2 separate regions of the Homo sapiens genome follow, and region 2 is linked to region 1. Evidence: promoter capture Hi-C in human tissues and cell types (Jung and others, 2019). All regions are on one chromosome and are shown on one strand. The core of a region is centred on a gene start or on the middle of the fragment in contact, and the rest is flanking DNA. Distances in the headings are between cores, read along the strand shown.

Region 1 (5,468 bases), core at 810-3,309:
TAAATTTAAATTTAAAACTGTATGTCGGATCTACCTTTGGGAGTATTCTGGTTTTATATATATATAAAATACACACGAAGATGGATAGATGGATACATGTTGAATGAATATTTCGCAAATAGATATTAAAATTAGATTTAGCTTCAACAAGAAAATTTCAGCCTTGAACTAGAATTTTCTGATCTAACCTGTATTACAGCTCCTTCACAAAAGGAAACTGGAACAAACAGTACTATACTTTCTAACCAGTGGTCATATTAATTTTTTTTACTTCTGGATTTTAACAGGCCACATATTCTTCCTTTCACTTCCAGAGTCTCAATCCCTTTTGATCAGAAACTTTCTACTTCTCAAATTCTACAATATACATTTAGATTTAAAAGCAAAGTGAGCCTGGGCAACATAGTGAGACCCCATCCCTACAAAAAATTTAAAAATTAGCCTGGCACGGTAGATGCATCCTTGTAGTCCTTGCTACTCAGCAAGCTGATCAGGAATTCAAGGTTATAGTGAGCTAGGATTGTACCACTTCACTCAGATCACTGCATTCTGCCTGGGTGACAGAAGTAGACTCTGTCTCGAAAAAATAAATTAAAAATATTTTAAATCAAAAAAATTAGGCTAGGCACAGTGGCTCACGCCTGTAATCCCAGCACTTTGGGAGGCTAAAGTGGGAGAAGTGCTTGTGCCCAGGGGTTTGAGACCAGCCTGGCCAACATAGCAAGACTTCATCTCTACAAAAAAGAAAAATTTTTAAAAGTTTAAAAACGAAAGCAAAGTGACACTCTTTAAAATATAGAATATAATTGTAATTCAGGACTAACTAGTTCTACCTATTAACAGAGTACGCCAAGCTCACAAAACAATAATAAACAACAAGGATGATGACCACCATTCTTTCCAAGTAAAGCTGCTGCTGATCTCCTGTTTATAAGGCTCCAAGATGATTTTCAAGCACAAGAAACACCCTGTATTTGACTCATTCAGCTACAGTTTCACTCAGACCCTAATGGGGAGGAGGGAGTTTTAAGACAAGCAATAGCATTCTGAATTCCACCAACAACTCTACCATGCCTTACTTGCTATGTGGTTGTGGCTAAGTGTCTTAGCTTCCCTGTGTACCAGATTTGTTCAAGAGCAGCTAAGTAGGGAAGGAAAACAAAAGCCTCATCTGCCTGAAATCCAAAAATACACCCCAATTATTTGTTACAAAAGACAAAATAATGTAAATTGAAATGCTGTTGGTGAATTCTCTTTATTAAAATGAAGTCATCCCACCTTTCAAATACCAGTCATTGTGTCTGATTTCCGAATTCATTACAGGAAGAACTGTGTATGAAGTCACCCAAACACATGCACTCTCCACTTCCCTTAATTGAAAGTTGCTGATTTCCGAGGAGCCAGGGGCTGAGCAGAATGTAAACCTAAAGGCTAAATCAGTAAACAACCCCATCCAAACTGGTCTAAGAGGAAAGCGAGGTGGGTGGGGAGGAAGGTGGGTGACAGGAGAAACTCGGCTGACCACTGCGCCAAGTCAACGCACTCACAGCTCTCGAGGTGACACACACTCCCCTTCCCACCCTCGGGCTGTCAAGTCGGCTGTTTTGGTCCCAGCACCGTGGGGGCAGAACTCCAGAGAAGCAGCTCAAGCTTCAGCTGGGGCCGGGGACCCTCGGGCAACCCGGGCCTGACAGATTGGGGGATGGCAGCCCACCGCCCCCAGGGTGGACAGCCCGAGACAGCCCCAGGTGTGGCCTCGGCCGTAGCCCCAGCCGGGCCCTGCGTCCCGGCAGCCTCACCCAGGCCTGTCCCCGGGACAGCTCCCGCCCCCCAGCTCGGTACCCCGGCTCACTGGCTTGGCTGATCCGCTGGATGTTGCCGCTGCACGTCTGGATGATGCTGCTGAAGTCCCGGAGCTGGGGCCCCGAGGGCCCCGGGTTCCGGTACATGTCTAAGGGACCGTATGACATGACGAGGAGCTGAGACCTGCTCGCTCTACACCGCTCTCCTACCGGAAGCAGCCGCCAGCCGGGACCCGCAGGCTGACGGAGAAACTGGGAAGAGCAAGGGCGGGGAAGGAGCTAAGGCTGCGTGCGCACTAGCCCCGCCCTCACGCGGCGCGCACGCGTCCTCCCCGCCCCGGTCCAAAGTGCGCAGGCGCCGCTGGGACTGGAGCTGGGACTGGAGCTGGGACTGTAGCTTAGAGACAGGACTCCCCGAGGCTTGGGGATGCAGGGCGGGGAGATGACGTCACCTAGTTGGGGCTGAGATTGGATGAGCTTGGGTGGAGGTGTTGTTTCTCGCCAGGGCACAGTGACAAGAGGCAAGAATTTTCGATTTGCATAAAACTGTACCAGATGATCTCAGCCCTTACATCCTATTCTGTTCTGAGAATTCAGGCCCAAATATGGGAGAATTCAACGTTGAAACTCAGACCCGGAACCAAATCGTAACCCGAAATTCCTCTCTACTTCCATCCCCAGGGCTTTGGTAGTGTTTGGGGTTTCCAAACCACTTTCATTTCTCCCTCCACCCCTCTTCTAATCTAAACAATAAAATAATGTTTATTGAGCACATACTATGTGAATCCTCACCGCAATTCACTTGTTCATAAGATTTTTCACAGCAGGGGACGATGCTCTATCTATATTTTTATCATTAGAATAGATAACGGAGAGTCGGTTTTTTAAATGTTGAAGTAAAGTAATTCATCAAAGTAAGCATTATTATTTTCCCTCTTACCGATGAGAAAATTAAGACCAGCGAGGTTAGTTCGCCTTGCTGAAATTTGACTGCAAAACCCAAACGCTAAGCTGACTCTCTCCTCACCTCGCTACTTCTCTAAAATTCATTCTCGTCTAAATCTCTCCCAAATAGCTCGTTCATCTATATCCCAAGCCGGGATATCTTGGAGAACTAGATTCCTAAAATTTAAAAATCGTTCCCTTAAGTAATTTGGAATGCATGACCTCAATGTTCCCACAGAAAACTGCATTTTTGTAAGCCTATGTTAAAAGGAAAGACATAGGATTTTGGTTTGGGAGGAGATCAAGATAGTGAGAAGTGAAGGGGAACTGGCTGCGTTTCCTGTGTTCTACACCCCACCCCACCCCACCCCAGCCTGCTTTGTAGTCTTTGGAAAATGCAAAGACAGAAAGCTGCTTGCCTGGATGAAAGGAGACCCAAAGTGAATGAGCCTGTATATGGCCTTAGGATTTTTTCTTTATTTTATTTTTTTTGAGACAGGGTCCCGCTCTGTCACGCAGGTTGGAGTGCAGTGGCGCGATCTCTGCTCACTGCATCCTCCTTCTCCTGGGCTCAGGAGGTCCTACCACCTAACCTCTGAGTAGCTAGGATTACAGGCGTGCGCCACCACGCCCAGCTAATTTTTATATTTTTTGTAGTGTTGGGGTTTGGCCATGTTGTCCAGGCTGGTCTCAAACTCCTGGGCTCAAGCAATCCACCCACCAGCCTTAGGATTTTTTAAGGGTGACTATCTCTATTTTTCGTTGGAGAATTTATGAGAGCATTTTTTTTCCCTGTCTCTAGAAAGAGACGGATGACATTTGGGGACTCTTATTTTGGTTATTTTATTTTATTTTATTTTTGAGACAGAATCTTGCTCTGTTGCCCAGGCTGGAGTGCAATGGCGCAATCTCGGCTCAATGCAACCTCCGCCTCCTGGGTTCAAGCGATTCTCCTGCCTCAGCCTCCCGAGTAGCTGGGATTACAGGCGTGTACCACCACGCCCGGGTACTTTTTGTATTTTTAGTAGAGATGGGGTTTGACCATGTTGGCCAGGCTGGTCTCGAACTCCTGACCTCAGGTGATCCACCCGCCTCGGCTTCCCAAAGTGTTGGGATTACAGGCGTGAGCCACCGCACCCAGCCTGTTTTGGTTATTATTATAAAACCTTACCGTTTCTTAGAATCTGTAGTTTTATGTCAAATCTTAAGCAAGTCATGTAAATTGCACTTTTTTACCTATATAATAGTACTGATGATTTTTTTCATTTACATTTGACACTATTTAAAGTGAAGTTCAGTAAAGATATTTTTCTTTTAGGAATTAAAAATATTGTTTTCTTTCTCCATGTAAAATAAAAGTGGTTTTTAGGCTGGGCGCGGTGGCTCACAACTGGAATTCCAGCACTTTGGGAGGCTGAGGCAGGCTGATCATTGCTTGAGCTCAGGAGTTCGAGACCAGCCTGGGCAAAATGGCAAAACCCTATCTCTACCAAAAATACAAAAATTAGCTGGGCATAGTGGCCTGAGCCTGTAGTCCCAGCTACTCGGGAGGCTGAGGCAGGAGTGTAGCTTAAGCCAGGGAGGCAGAGGTTGCAGTGAGCATCTCTCATAGCAGTAAATCTGTGCCTTGCAAATACTGGATGTCAAACAAACATTTATTGAATTAACACATGAATAATAAAAATAATAATTTTATCATTGCTTAAATGCCTGTTAGGTGCCAGGCAGTATGAACACATTTTGTGTACGTTATCAGTAATCTCCAAGATAAAGCCCATCTGATAAAGACCACCTGTAGTCAGACAAAGTTAAGTTTATTAACTTGCTGCTGCAAGGGAAACTGCACACCAAAAGAATCATGGAGCATGTCACAAAACACAGGAAGACAGTGAGTTATTCCAGGATTTGGGGGAAAGAAATGTAGATAAATTTTTAAAGAAGCAGTGTTTTGATAGCCCCCAAACACACCAGGCTATGTGTAAAGGGATTATCATCAGGCCCCAGCTAACAAGATCCTGTTTCCTTGGAAACCATGATGCCAAGATAAATGTGGAATGTTGTGTCTGGAAACCCCTTATCTGAAGCTCTGCACCTGCGTTAGAAATTGAGGCTGCTCTTCTGCATCAAAGTAACTGATCCTCCAGGTAAGAGTGATATATTCCATTCTTACTGATAATTTGAGCAACAAATTTTCTAAAAATCTATGGCTTTAGAGAAAATGTCTCTCAGCTCTACATACTTTTGTTAATTAACGAAAGTAGTCTTCATGGGTTTGCACCCATCAAGGCGATATTAGCTCCTTGGTACGGATAAAGAAACTAGAGATTCTGGGTACTTGCCTAATGTCATACAGCTGTTAAGTGACAGAGCCAGGATTCCCATGCACCTTCTGACCCAGCAATTCTACTCCTAACTATATACCCAACTATGCGTGTTCCAAAAATCAGGTATAGTTCATAGGAGCATTTTTAGGACCAAGCAGCATTTTTCTATACTTATTTACTTTTTGTTTTTTTTTTTCGGAGACAGGCTGGAGTGCAGTGGCGTGATCTCGACTCACTGCAGCCTCAATCTCCCTGGCTCAAGCCATCTTCCTACCTCAGGCCTCCAAGTAGCTGGGACTACAGGCACGCACCACCACACCTGGCTAATTTTTGTATTTTTTTGTTGAGATGTGGTCTTGCCATGTTGCCCAGGCTGGTCTCAAACTCCTGGGCTCAA
Region 2 (5,468 bases), core at 2,059-4,558, 530 kb after region 1:
AAACCACAATGAGATACCATCTCACACTAGTCAGGATAGCTATTATTAAAAAGTCAAAAAATAACAGATGCTGGTGAGGTTGCAGAGAAAAGGCAACACTTTTACACTGTTAGTGGGAGTGTAAATTAGTTCAACCATTGTGGAAAGCAGTGTGAAGATTCCTCAAAGAGCTAAAAACAGAACTACCATTTGCCCTAGCAATCCTATTACTGGGTATATACCCAAAGGAATATAAATAGTTTCACCATAAAGACACACACACTGTGCAGTATGTTAATTGTGGCACTATTCACAATAAGCAAGACATGGAATCAACCTAAATGCTCATCAACAGCAGATGGGATAAAGAAGATGTGGTACAGGCTGGGCACAGTGGCTCACGCCTGTAATCCCAGCACTTTGGGAGGCCGAGGCGGGCAGATCACCTGAGGTCAGCAGTTCAAGACCAGCCTGGCCAACGTGGAGAAACCCCGTCTCTACTAACACTATAAAATTAGGCAGGCATGGTGTCAGGTGCCTATAATCCCAGCTACTTGGGAGGCTGAGGCAGGAGAATCACTTGAACCCGGGAGGCAGAGGTTGTAGTGAGCTGAGACTACGCCATTGCACTCCAGGCTGGGCAACAAGAGTGAAACTCCATCTCACAAAGAAAAAAAAAAAAAAAAAGAAAGAAAATGTGGTACATGTACACCATGGAATGACCATGCAGCCATAAGAATGAGATCATATCCTTTGCAGGAACATGAATGGAGCCGGAGGCCATTATCCTCAGCAAACTAAAGCAGAAACAGAAAACCAAATATGGCATGTTCTAACTTGTAAGTGGAAGCTAAATGATGAGACTTCATGGACACAAAGAAGGGAACAACAGACACTGGAACCTACTTGAGGGTGGAGGGTGGGAAGAGGAAGAGGATCAGAAAAAATAACTATTGAGTACTAGGCTTAGTACCTGGGTAACAAAATAATCTGCACAACAAACCACCATGACATGAGTTTACCTGTATAAAAAACCTGCACAAGGCTGGGCACAGTGGCTCACATCTCTAATCCCAGCATTTTGGGAGGCTGAGGCAGGTGGATCACTTAAGGTCAGAAGTTCAAGACCAGCCTAGCCAACGTGGTAAAACCTCGTCTCTACTAAAAATACAAAAATTAGCCAGGCGTGGTGGCAGGCACCTGTAATCCCAGCTACTCGAGAGGCTGAGGCAGGAGAATCGCTTAAACCCAGGAGGCAGAGGTTGCAGTGAGCTGAGATCATGCCACTCTGCTCCAGCCTGGGCAACAGAGGGAGACTCTGTCTCAAAAAAAAGTTTAATTAATTAAATAAATAATAATGCAGAAATAGGCTGGGTGCGGTGGCTCACGTCTGTAATCCCAGCACTTTGGGAGTCCGAGGTAGGAGGATTACTTAGGCCCAGGAGTTTGAGGCTGCAGTGAGCTATGTTTGTGGCACTGGACTCCAGGCTGGGTGACAGAGTGAGACCCTGTTTCGAAAAAAAAAAAAAAAAAAAAATGGCTGGGCGTGGTGGCTCACGCCTGTAATCCCAGCACTTTGGGAGGCCGAGGTGGGCAGATCACCTGAGGTCAGGAGTTCAAGACCAGCCTGGCCAACATGGTGAAACCCCATCTCTACTAAAAATACAAAAATTAGCCGGGCGTGGTGGCGGGCACCTGTAATCCCAGCTACTCAGGAGGCTGAGGCAGAAGAATCGCTTAAACCTGGAAGGCGGAGGTTGCAGTAAGCCCAGATCGTGCCATTGCACTCCAGCCTGAGTGACAAAGCAAGACTCAGTCTAAAAAAAAAAAAGGAAAGAAAACACATGTCCATACAAAAAGCTGTACATGAATACTCAGAGCAGCATTATTCATAATAGCCCAAATTAGAAACAACCCAAATGGCCATCAATTGATGAATAAATATAATGTGTTAATATCCACTGTAATGGAATATTATGCAGCCATAAAAAGGAATGAGGTACTAATTCATACAACAACATGGAAGAAACTTCAAAACATTCTGCTAAGTGAAGGAAGCCAGTCACAAAAGACTACATGTCGTATGGTTCTATTTATGTGAAATGTCAAGAATAGGAAAACCTACAGAGACAGAAAGAGATGGGAGTGTTGGGGAGGAATGTGATAGCTCAAGGGTATGTGTTTCTTTTTTAGGTGATGAAAATGTTTTGGAATTAGATAGTGGTGACAAGTTGCACAACTTTGTGACTATATTAAAACCAATGAATTGTATAATTTAAGAGACTGTCTATTTTATGGTACGTGAATTATATGTCAATAAAGAAGAAATACCTTAAACCCTTTGCTCTCTCAGTCTATTCTGCCGTTTGTAAAATGAGAGGTGGACTCTGAGATAAGCTACAAAACCCCTTCCGATGACACTATGCTGAGATTTTAAGTAGACACTACTGGTTAGCAGCAGACCAGAGATGGAACCTAAAACATCTGTATTCTCTTTCCTCTGGACATGCTACCTCCCATAGCATGTCCCATAGGATTACAGTGGCTCATGCCTGTAATCCCAGCACTTTCTGGGAGGCCAAGGCGGGTGGACCAGGAGGTCAGGAGTTCGAGACCAGCCTGGCCAACATGGTGAAAGCTCGTCTCTACTAAAAATACAGAAATTAGCTGTGCATGGTGGCAGGCACCTATAATCCCAGCTACTCGGGAAGCTGAGGCAGGAGAATCGTCTGAACCCGGGAGGCGGAGGTTGCAGTGAGCCGAGATTGCGCCATTGCACTCCACCCTGGGTGACAGGGCAAGACTCTGTCTCAAAAATACAAACAAACAAAAAAAAAAAACCAAAAAAAACCCTTTCTTTTCTCTACCTCAAAATCACAGGTTATGGAAAGAAAATTCCATTCTTAGCCTTTCCTTCATCTGTCTCCTACCTTGAGCTGTGGTTATTTACGTGGCTTCTCTTTCTTAGAAGATTAAAAGCATGCTGAGGGCCTGCTCTTCATCCGATTCATCCATTGATCCCACTGGTCTTCCAGGAGTGATGTAAGCTTAGCAGGCACCAATAAATATTTGCTGAATGAATAATGGCATGACTGCCTTACACACAATGTTTTATACCTATCAAAGCACTTTTGTTCAAGCTTTTAATTTGAACTTTGCAACAATCCTTTTAGGAAGTTAGAAAGCTAATATAACGCTGCTATGAATAATGCTGCTATGAATATTCATGTACGATAATAATCCCCATTTAACAAGGGAGAAGTGAAGCAGAATACTACATGGTACTGAGGAAGAAGCACTGGACTGGGAGATCTAGGGTCTTGTGCTCCAAGCCAGCCTCTGCCTTTAACTGGCTGTATGACCCTGAGTGAGGCATTTTGCTCTCTCAGTCTATTCTGCCGTTTGTAAAATGAGAGGTGGACTCTGAGATAAGCTACAAAACCCCTTCCGATGACACTATGCTGAGATTTTAAGTAGACACTACTGGTTAGCAGCAGACCAGAGATGGAACCTAAAACATCTGTATTCTCTTTCCTCTGGACATGCTACCTCCCATAGCAGAGACGTGCCCCCAACCAGGGTGACAACTGACCCCCTTTCAACATTCTGAATTATGCAAAGATGTATGCAAGTTTCCTTTCACTCTATTTATAGTGGTTCTATTGGAGCAATCCTACAAAAAAGATGAAAGATGCAACGAAGCAAGGACTCAACTTCACTTTCAATGCATAAAGGTCATTGGAAATAACATAAGGCCAGGTGTGGTAGCTCATGCCTGTAATCTCAGTGCTTTGGGAGACCGAGGCAGGAGGATCACTTGAAGGCCGGGAGGTCGAGAGCAGTCTGGGCAACAGAGTAAGATCCTGTCTCTATAAAAAAGTTTTTTAAAAATTAGCCAGGCATGGTGGCACACTCCTGTAGTCCTAGCTACTAGGAAGGCTGAGGCAGGAGGGAGGAGGGAGAATTGCTTGAGCCCAGGAGTTTGAGGCTATATTGAGCTATGATTGTGCCTCTGCACTCCAGCCCGTGTGACAAAGTGAGGCGCTGTCTCAAAAACAAAACAAAACAAAAGAAAGAAAGAGCATAATAAAATGAAGAGTGTAGCTGTGGACCTAACAGATCTTAGGTTCAAATCCCAGTTCTGACACCTATTTTCTGTCTGACTTGACATTTCTTTTAAATTTTTTTTTCTTTTCTATACCTCTTACGTCTCTTCATCTTTTTAATTTTTTTAAAAAAATTTTTATTTGTTTTGAGACAGGGTCTGGCTCTGTCACCCAGGCTGGAGTGTGGTAGCATGATCTCAGCTCACTGCAACCTCTGCCTCCCGGGCCCAAGAGATCCTCCCATCTCATCAGCCTCCCGAGTAGTTGGGACCACGGGCATGCACCACCCACACACACCTGGCTAATTTTTGCATTTTTTTTTTTTTTTTTTGTAGAGATGGGGTTTCACCATGCTGCCCAGGCTGGTCTCGAACTCCTGGGCTCAAGCGATCTGCCCACCTCAGCCTCCCAAAGTGTTGGGATTATAGGCATGAGTCACCATGCCAGACCCTGACTTGACACTTCTAAACCTTAGTTTCCTAATCTGATAATACCTACCTCTGCAGGGTGAGGAGGAACAGAAGCGCTTGCATGTAAAATGCCTGACACTGATCCTATTAAATAATATTTATTGAACATTCTAACAGTTTACAAGTGTCATCTCACAGACTCCTCATAATAATCCTATGAGACAGGTGCTATTGTTATCCTCATCTTACAGATGCAGGATCTGAGGCACAGAAAAGTGAAGTTGCCAAAGCTACACAGTTCTTAGACAGAGAGTCAACCTATACAGTCTGACTCCAGGGGCCAGGCCATTGGCCACTAAATAATAATTACTGGGCCGGGTGTGGTGGCTCACACCTGTAATCCAGCACTTTGGGAGGCCAAGGCGGGCAGATCACTTGAGGTCAGGAGTTCCAGACCAGCCTGGCCAATGTGGTGAAACCCTGTCTCTATTAAAAATACAAAAATTAGCCGGACATGGTGGCAGGCGCCTGTAATCCCAGCTGCTGGGGAGGCTGAGGCAGGAGAATCACTTGAACTCAGGAGGCAGAGGTTGCAGTGAGCCAAGATCGAGATCATGCCACTGCACTTCAGCCTGGGTGACAGAGTGAGACATTGTCTCAAAAAAAAAAAAAAAAAAAAAAAAAATTACTGGCCAGGGAGCAGCGGCTCACACCTGTAATATCAGTATTGATACAATTTCAGGAAGCTGCTGAAACTTTGTCTCTTACCATTCCTTAGGGTTAAGCTGCCTTGACTCTGCTGATCTCAAACACAAATTTAAAGAGTGCCATTTCAAGGTCATGGACTAAGTTGGTACAAGGACAGTTTCTGGGAAAGCTTTCGCTGGTAGGATAGACTCATCACCAAAGCATCTTCAGGAAACTTCTTAGCCATCTTTGAGGCTCCTGGCTTAAATAATCCCATGTAGGACTG

What was found. Contacts are between HindIII fragments. The study calls those that stand out against the background at their distance.
Region 2: a fragment that was not itself captured here is called in contact with the fragment with the promoter of STX12 in region 1 in 1 of the 25 tissues and cell types used here (mesenchymal stem cells).

Annotation. Positions count from the first base shown.
Region 1 is chr1:27,769,810-27,775,277 of GRCh38, reverse strand. STX12 (syntaxin 12) reads right to left here and starts at 2,059. Exons shown (of 9, transcript NM_177424.3): 1 at 1,853-2,059. The coding sequence starts at 1,970. RefSeq lists enhancers at 1,222-1,722, 1,920-2,069, 1,723-2,223, 2,190-2,339 and a silencer at 1,600-1,809. The HindIII fragment of the contact is 12,641 bases long and covers 1-5,468 here.
Region 2 is chr1:27,242,911-27,248,378 of GRCh38, reverse strand. All of the region lies in intron 1 of WDTC1 (WD and tetratricopeptide repeats 1), which reads right to left. Among named protein-coding and RNA genes, the nearest start is that of WDTC1, 11 kb to the right of the region's middle. The HindIII fragment of the contact is 4,284 bases long and covers 1,167-5,450 here.